3 separate regions of the Homo sapiens genome follow, and regions 1 and 2 are each linked to region 3. The links are contacts of gene promoters, found by promoter capture Hi-C in blood cells and fetal thymus (Javierre and others, 2016). All regions are on one chromosome and are shown on one strand. Each heading gives the region's core, a stretch centred on a gene start or on the middle of the fragment in contact. The rest is flanking DNA. Distances are from core to core; before and after follow the strand shown. Region 1 holds the start of CMTM8 (CKLF like MARVEL transmembrane domain containing 8). Region 2 has its middle 6.8 kb from the start of CMTM7. Region 3 holds the start of CNOT10 (CCR4-NOT transcription complex subunit 10).

Region 1 (2,747 bases), core at 22-2,521, 450 kb after region 3:
CCGGTGTGATTTACGTCCCCTCTCTAGGCCTTCACAGGGGAGGGTGGTCGTTGGATTACACGAGGGTATGAGGACATCTAAAGGGCTTGACAAGATCCTGGTACACGAAGAAGACTCAAACAGTGACCACCTCTAACTGCTGACAGGACTCCAGTCCTTTCTCAGCTATGAAGGACTGGCTGGGACTTCTGGGAAGATCACGTGAGTTTTCAGCCTCTATGCCCTCCAATGAAGAGAAGAACGCCCATGCCCTGCCTCCTTCCCAGGAATGTTCTGAGCCTAAACCAGGATGTGCACAGCACCATGCAAAAGACCTCTTTGGTCCTAAAATAGGTTATGGCACTCAGATTTTATTCAGTAAAATTTTCCTGACTCACCTCAATGTTACTACCAGGGAGATAATTAGGAAAAGAAAGAAGCCCTTTCCTCTTCCCCTGATCTTAGGAAGCTTTATTTTCAGGGAGGAGGCCATCCACGTGGAGATCAGGTGAGAAAGGCACCAGGTGTCTCTGACACTCAACACAAACTCAATAGCCACTAAGCCAAGCTTCCTGCTCCCAGGATCTGCCGCCGCCACCGAGAGGACCCAACAAGCTGAATTTCTCCCACAGCAAGACATCCTGAGGATCACAACCCTTTCTTCCCAGGACAGCCCGAGTTTCCTGGACCTTGTTTAGAGTCTTTCACTTTGGGAAGAAGGCGAGGCTGAGCAAAAACGGTTCCCTAAAGCCCGCGGGAAGATCTGAGCAGGCTCCATCCCGAGAAGCACGGCGGAAGCACGCGCCGGGGTCCAGCTGAGCCCCCCGCCACCCCCGGCCCGTCGGCACTCACGATCTCGGCCACGATGAGGAAGCCGGGCAGGGTGCGGAGGAACTCCCGGTCGTAGGCGAAGCTGCTGCTGCTGGTGGAGAAGTTCTCTGCGAAGGAGCTGGCGGTGGTGGTGACTGTGTGCGAGCGGGCGCGCTGCGGCTCCTCCATCGTCGAGCCACTGCCGGGCTGGCGCGTCCCCAGGGACCCCGGCGGGTCTGGGGCTGGACGCGCGGCCCTGCGCCCTGGGGACACAGGCGCGGGGGAGGGGAGCGCGGCCCGCGCGGGGCAGGAGGTGCGAGGGGGGCGCCCGCCGGGGGCTGTCCAGGCGCGGCGGGTGTCCCTCTAGTGCGCGGTGCCCCTAGCGCCTCGGTGCGCGGGCTCCCGAGCTGCGCTGGGGCCCTAGAGGAAGAGGAGAGCGAGCGAGGGGAGGCTGCCGGGCAGCCGGGGAAGGCGGTGGAGGCCCGGAGGAGGGGAGGGGGCGGGGAGAGGGGCGGGCGGGAGGCGGGCAGGAGAGGGACCGCCCCGCGGAGGCGCCGCGGACGCCCGCCCTCTTCACCTGTTGCCCGACTCCCAGCGGCGGAGAAGGCGCCGCGTCGCACCCAGGGTGGCTGGGTTGGCAGCCTGGCGGGCGGCGCGGAGGAGAGGGCGCAGGGGTCCTTCTGGCCGTCTTCCGCTCCCCCTCCCGGCCTTTACTTCTGTCAGGCCCCGCCTGGCCCAGGCCCGCAGCCTGTTTCCTTCCACCTGGGCGGGTCGGGGGCTGCGGGCATTGGGGCCCCTTAAGGAAACCCAGGCCTCCAGGGACTCCGCCGCTCCAGGACTCGGCGCGGAGGGAATGACTGAGCGACGACCGAGGCAGGGGGTGATGTGGTACCTCGAATGCTGTGGAAATGGCAGGAATGATGACCCGGCCGGACCTTAGACCCGAGATCGATGAGAGGCCGCCAGCACTGCCCGGGAGACGGCCCGCTCTTCTCCCCCTCCTGCTGCGGCCGCCGCCAGAGCCCGGTGTTATTTCCTGCCCCTCCTGTCGGGAACAATTTGAGGAACCAACTTAATCGCTTGGCTTTGAGGGCGCGACGCTTCCAGGCGCTCTCCGCGGCTCTGTCCCGCGGACCGGTGGAGCCTGGGTGACGGCGCCTGGGCCGGAGGAGGGGAGATGTTTGGGGTCCCTGGCCAGGATGAATCAGCGTAACCGTCCCGTCACCCTCGGGGAAAAAAAATGTTTCAAGAAGGCTTGAAGGGTGTGATTTGTGTAATGTTAACTTTAGGACAAATGAGCTGTGCTTTCCTGGCATGGGAAGGGGATGGGGGTCCTCATTTAGTGAGGCAGTTTGTAACAGGGTCAGGGAAGAACTGAGCTCGGCTGCGTGCGTTTATCGGCTGTATGACCCAGAGCGAGTGGCTCTAGTTTTTGGACCTCAGTAATGCCATCTCTAAAATGCAGGCTTTGACAGATGGACCTCTGAACAAAAAGATTATCTTCCGCTTGGTCCCTCCTTCTATTTTGTGAAAGGGTAGCAAGAAACATTTTATCTGGAAGCCACCAAAAGAAAAGGAAATAATCTTTGGCTATAAATCGAGGGTATCTTTGATTCACAGTGAAGGCATTTCTGCTGATCTGTTCCAAGACAGGTTAAAAACGAGATCAGAAGGGACATTTTCTTCACAGTGTCTTATCAAGTGTGCTGAGAAGAAAGCAAAAACGACAATCTAATAAAATAAAACAAGGAATTAGTGTCTTTTAAGTCTAGGGCCTAGCCAGGAAGACCTCCAGGAGTAAAAGTTAAGGCTTCAAAAGCATGGCAAAGATGTAGATTTGGAGAGATTCCATCCATGTGCATTTGGTAAGCACCTTGGGCTGGTGGGTAAATTCTTAAAATTTAAAATATAGCACTTCTCCCTGGAGCAGTAGTTCTCAAAGTGGTCCTTGGACCAAC
Region 2 (3,060 bases), core at 311-2,810, 300 kb after region 3:
TGTTAGGAAGTCTGAGCTATGCCAGGCAGACAAAGGCATCAGGTGTCCATGAAACTCTTCCAATATCAGCCTTTAAAATCCTTTTCCAGTGAATTTCTTTATTTGTTTGTTTATTTATTTATTTATTTATTTATTTATTTATTTATTTTTGAGATGGAGTCTCACTCTGTCGCCCAAGCTGGAGTGCAGTGGCGCGATCTCGCCTCACTGCAAGCTCCGCCTCCTGGGTTCATGCCATTCTCCTGCCTCAGCCTCCTGAGTAGCTGGGACTACAGGCACCCGACACCATGCCCAGCTAATTTTTTGAATTTTTAGTAGAGACGGGGTTTCACCGTGTTAGCCAGGATGGTCTCAATCTCCTGACCTTGTGATCCGTCCGCCTCGGCCTCCCAAAGTGCTGGGATTACAGGTGTGAGCCACCGCGCCTGGCCTCCAGTGAATTTTTAAAAAGTTTATTAGGTTCCGTAAACCAGTCAAACTCTCAGGTCCTTCTGAGAATCACCAATCAGCTGCCTTATATCCATTGGAAATTTATTGCATCAGGCTGGCTCCTGAGCCAAGGGCAGCCCATCAGTGGGTTGGCCAGTAGTGTTTGGAGTGGCCTTATAAGGGAACTTTGCCTAGTAAGAGTGGGAGCTCCACTGATGATCCTCTGTCCTGCGGAGTTTGAATGTGAGGCATTGAGAGGGGTTTAGCAATTGGGACATAGAGAGAAGGTGGAAGCCAGGAGGCTGGTTGGGCCATGAGAGGAAATAAGGAGAGGCAGAGCAGAAGAGAGTGGCTGAGGCCCAGCAGAGGGAGAGCGGCATGTACTCACCACAGCGGGGCCAGCCAGGATACCTGGTCTTTAGCGCCAGGTGGGACCCTGAAACCTTTGTCTTTGTGCTGCCTGGCTGTGTGGCTGAGAGGCAGGACTCTGGAACCAAACTGCCTGGGTTTGGCCCTTAGTTCCATCACTTGCTAGATGTGCAACCTTGGGCAAGCCTCTCTCAGCCTCCATTTCCTTCTCTGTAAAGAGGAACAACAATAGAAATGACCCCTCAGGGTAACTGCGAGATCTAAATGGGATAAGACATATGGAAACGGTCTAGAGTAGCATCTGGCTCATAGTAGTAAATGTTACCTATTTTATCATTTTTCCTAAGTCCTTATGTATCGAACAATGAGGCTTCATTATCTGAGGGCTGAGGGACTCCTGTACGTTGCCATTTCCATAACCATAAGCATCAAAGACCATCTTCAAGGGTGAAATAAAAGATTTCTTGGATTTAGGTAATCCAAGGAATTTTGAGAGCTGCTGGGGAAAAGTTTTACTGAGAGAGGAAGGGAGGAGAGGAGGATTCACCTTGTTATTTGCTCACAACCCTCACTCAGCAAATGTTACGGAGAGCCTTCCACATGCCTGACTGAACACTTCCCAGAAGAGGAACTCCCTCCCCCAGGGAGTTTGTAACCATAGCAACACAGGGAAATAGAGTCAGATAACCGAGGAGGCTGTGGTCGTCATCTCTGTCATCTCTGTTGGGAGGAGTCGAGGTCTGGGTTAGACGGCTCCCTGTTTGTGTCCAGTATTTAGCAGAGTGCCTGGCCCAAAGTAGTACTCAGTTTATATTTGTGGGATTAATGCAGAGCTGTAGCATCCCTGTAAGGGATGGCCCAAAGCTGGGAGTAACCAGCTTGTCTTGAACTGGGAGGAGAAAGTTTCAAAAAAGAATATGTGCTTGGAACTAGGTCTTGAAGGGCGATTAAAAATTTATGGGGTGGGCAAAAGAGGGAATGACATATGTCAAGAAAGGAGGCATGAAACCGCACCACGGATTCCAGGAATTCCCAGTCCTTTGGCGTGGCTGGAGTGTGGGGACTTGGGGAAAAGGGCTGGGGACCTTGGCTGGAGAGATACCACAGGACTGTGGATGCCCACCTTAGGATTTGTGCTTTATGTAGACAATGAACACTGTGAGGATCAAAGGGGTTAAGATATGTCAAATGCTGAGAACTGTTGCTGACAGTAAGATGATGAGTATGATGATGATAATGAGATCTCTTTTTTATCTTTCCTTAGCCCATGCTGTCATTTGCAATCACCTGTGAAACCTATGAAAACTATACCTGCCCAGGCTCAGCCTTGGAGATTCTGATTCAGTGTGCTCAGGCGGGGCTGGACATCCATGTTTGGGAAGAGTTGCGCGGGTGATTTCGATGCGTATATGACCCTGGTTGAAAACTGCTAACCTGGCAAATGCCCGCCAGTCTCACAAAGTCCAGCCAAAATGTTACGGCCTCTGAGAAGCCTTCTGTGAGTGATGAGCAATCCCCATGGCAATATTTATTGAGCACTGACAAAGTGCCAGGACCTGTGTCAGGCACAGGAGTACATGTTCTTTGCCCAGACTGAGAAAACAGGCAATATGTATGAAAAATGCTAATGATAGAATAAAAGTGGGGTACTATGGGAGCCCATGGGGAGATACCTTACCCTGTCAGGGATGTGATGGGGAAGTCAGGGAAGGCTTCCTGGAGGAGGGGCCATCTTAGCTGCATACTGAAGGATAAAGAGGTGTTAACCAGCCTTGGGTGGGTGGAGAAGAGAGTTCCAGGTAAGTACTCGGGCATGACAGATTAGAGGGGATGAAGTTCATGCAGGCTTAAGCATGAGGTCCAAAGAAGTGGGAGATGCTACATGAGGCTAGATAGGTGGCAAGACAATATGGCAAATGTGGGTGAGTTACCTGACTCCTGTATGTGCACCCAGCCCTTTGCCCACACTGGAAGTGTGTGACATATCTCACTTTAGTTGACTCTTTTGAGACTGGGAGCTCATAGAAAGAAGTCATGTGTGGAAACTCGGCAGTCAGGGTCATGCTGCCTTGGGTTTAAATCCTAAATCTGCCACCTACCAGCTCTGTGAAGCTGGGAAATTTCTAAACCCAGATGGGACAGATGGGTCAACCTTTCCCATCTGTCCCAATGGGAATGAAAACTCATACCAATGTTTGCTAATCCAATTATTTTCTGCTGCATATCAAAGCAACCCAAAGGTTTGTGGCTTAAAATAATCTA
Region 3 (2,815 bases), core at 253-2,752:
CCATGCCGTTTTCCTGTCTAATAGTCTCTCCCTCATCCACCTTTCCTCATTTCTTATGGCTCATTCCCTCACTTCTTACATATCTCTGCTCAAATATCATCTCACCAGAGGCCTTCCCTGAACAACCTATCCAAAATTTCACAGCACATTCCTTATACCCTCTCAAGGCCTTTGTTCTGTTGTTTTTCTTCTTAGATTATTGAAGAGATCCTCTAATGATTTTTATTCCTCTGTACCTAAAATAGAATTGGCTTAATTTCCAAGTGAAGTTCATTTGTCAGTTATTGTGACCAGAACCTACTAAAATCCACAGCACACTGAGTTTTTCTTTAATTTTAAATTAAATTCACTGTAAAAATTTTAAGTTCCATCACTTTTAAATCCTGTCACTTAAGTTCTTTCCAATAAAACCTGGATGCCACAAAGAATATGAATTTCTTGCGGGAAACATTCCGGACAAGGTCAGGAAATAATTTTATATTCCTTAATGTGGAAGATTCTAGGAATGGGAGCAATAATCCATAAAGAAAACCATTGAGATTAAGTAATTTCGAGGAACTAGAGCAATTAAGTACCAAATGCAAGATTTTAGGAGCACAGACTGTAGAGAGACAATAGGATTTTATGCCTTTTTAAATAAGTGGTTTACTTTGAGAGGCCAAGGCGGAAGGATCGCTTGGGCCCAGAAGTTCGAGATCAGCCTGGGCACCATAGCGAGACCCCCGCCCGTCTCTATCAAGAAAAAAAAAAGTGGTTTTTACAAAGTTAATTTCACAGGAGTCAATGACCAGAGGAAGCCACATGTGGTCAAAACAGCCCAGGTGAATCCCAGCCTCAGCCACGCGATATTATAGGCAGATGTGTGCTCCAGGGTGACTTTCTCTTGTCTGCTTTTCCCACGAAGAAGCGGAAAATTCTGCGAAGCGGCAAAATACATTTAAGCTTTTTGGGCCGGAGTTATTCTGAAGAGCAGGGCAAAGGCGGCCAGTGGCGACTTCAAATACTGCACTTGAGTAAAACAACTATTGGACCCGGGGCCCGAAGACTCATGTTAGCGACAGCCGAGACAGAGGATGGGGTAAAGAAATGCACGCCCAAATTCAAGTCGCCCTGGAGTCCCCACCCCGGGCCCCGCCGCCTCCGAGTTCAGGGTCCGCCCGGCCCCGCACGTCCCGCCGTCTCGTCGCTCGGGACATTGGCGCCCTACCTGCAGGCTTGTCTGCAGCCATCTTCCCGCTTCGACTCGGGTTCTTCCCTGCAGGTGGCGTGGCCCTGACTCCCGCCGCCGGGCTGGCCGCTGTCCTGGACCTCCGAGGACAACTCTGTGCCTACCCCGGCTCCGGGCCCCCAGGTTCCGGCTAGAGGAGTGGGCAGACGGCGGGCTGAGGAAGTGACGAGAGCTAGTTCCCGTCGTCTAGCAACAGCAACAGCTTCCCCACCAAGGGACCGCCACAGCCTCCCGCCATACACAGCTTCCGCCTCACGGCGTCCCGGTACCCACTACTTCCGGGGGCGGCAGCCTGCCGCGCCTGGAGCGCCGGCGTGGGAACTGCTACTGGCCCCGCCCCACGCCGACGTCCCCTCCGCGCCCCGCCTCCGGCCGGACGTACTCTGGCTGGAACCTCTGGATGTTCACAGGGCTGACGCGGTGGGACGTACGCGCGTCTGTCCTTTGCTTACTCTAATTAAAACACCGAGGTGTCAGAGCTTTTGTCCCTCAATGTTACATAATATTACAATAACCACATCTGACATTTATGTGCTAAGCACTGAGCCCTGCACTTGGTCTGTACTATCTCATTGATTTCTTGCAACCCCATGAGAGAGGCGCTGTTGAGGATTCCCGTTTAAAAAGAAACGCCTTTTATTTTAGAATAGTTGTAGTTGTGCAGAAAAGTTGCAAAGATGACACCTAGAGTTCCTGTCTCCTCACCTAGTTTCTCCTATTGTGAACATCTTAATTATTTTACTATGTTACGTTGATCACATCTAAGAAACCAGTTTGATTGGCGCACTATTACTCACTAAACTACACATTTTATTCACATTTACCAGCTTTCTTTCAATGTCCTTTTTTTGTTGTTGTTCCAGGATCCTGTCCAGGACACCATATTGCATTTATTCATTATGTCGTCTTAGGCTATTTTTGGCTGTGGCAGTTTCTCAGATTCTTCTTGTTTTTGATGACCTTGACAGTTTTGAAGAGTTACTCCTCAGATATTTGGTGGAATGTGCCTCAATTTGGGTTTGGCCAATATTTTTCTCATGGTTAGACTGGGGTTTTGGGTGTTTAGGAGGAAGACCACAAGGTGACTGGCTGTTCTCATCACATAGAATCAAGGGTACATGCTGTCAAAATGACATCACTGATCATGTTAACCTTGATTACCTCTCTAAGGTAGTGCTTGCCAGTTTTCTCTACTGTGCAATTACTCCTCCTACCCTTCCACACTACTTTGGAACCAAGTCAATAAATGCAACCCACACTCAAGGTGGGAAGGCGGGGTATTTAAGCTCTACCTCCTGCAGTGGGGAGTATGTACATAAATTATCTTCCCCAAGGGAAGTTTGCCTCTTCTCCCTCACTTAGCTATTTATATCAGTATGGACTCATGGATGTTTATCTTATAATGGTTACATTCCAATACTACATTATTTTGTTGCTAAAATTGTCCCAGCTTTGTTAATTGGGAGATTTTTCAGGTTTGTACCTGTTTTTTTCTTTTTTTTTAACTTTTGTTTTAAACTTTCTTTTAAAAAAGTATTTGTTTTTGGCCGGGCGTGGTGGCTCACACCTGCAATCCCAGCACTTTGG

Evidence for each region. Contacts are between HindIII fragments. The CHiCAGO score rates a contact against its expected background, and 5 or more counts as called.
Region 1: a contact is called between the fragment with the promoter of CMTM8 here and the fragment with the promoter of CNOT10 in region 3, in 2 of 17 cell types (non-activated CD4 T cells and activated CD4 T cells). The highest score is 6.0, in non-activated CD4 T cells.
Region 2: a fragment that was not itself captured here is called in contact with the fragment with the promoter of CNOT10 in region 3 in 1 of 17 cell types (neutrophils); the score reaches 8.6 in neutrophils.

The regions. Positions count from the first base shown.
Region 1 is chr3:32,237,204-32,239,950 of GRCh38, reverse strand. It overlaps CMTM8 (CKLF like MARVEL transmembrane domain containing 8), which reads right to left and starts at 1,271. Exons shown (of 4, transcript NM_178868.5): 1 at 832-1,271. The coding sequence starts at 978. RefSeq lists a silencer at 1,258-1,467. The HindIII fragment of the contact is 4,195 bases long and covers 550-2,747 here.
Region 2 is chr3:32,383,552-32,386,611 of GRCh38, reverse strand. No RefSeq gene overlaps it. Among named protein-coding and RNA genes, the nearest start is that of CMTM7, 6.8 kb to the left of the region's middle. The HindIII fragment of the contact is 6,743 bases long and covers 1-3,060 here.
Region 3 is chr3:32,683,875-32,686,689 of GRCh38, reverse strand. It overlaps CNOT10 (CCR4-NOT transcription complex subunit 10), which reads right to left and starts at 1,502. Exons shown (of 19, transcript NM_015442.3): 1 at 1,208-1,502. The coding sequence starts at 1,229. RefSeq lists a silencer at 1,392-1,701. The HindIII fragment of the contact is 5,126 bases long and covers 945-2,815 here.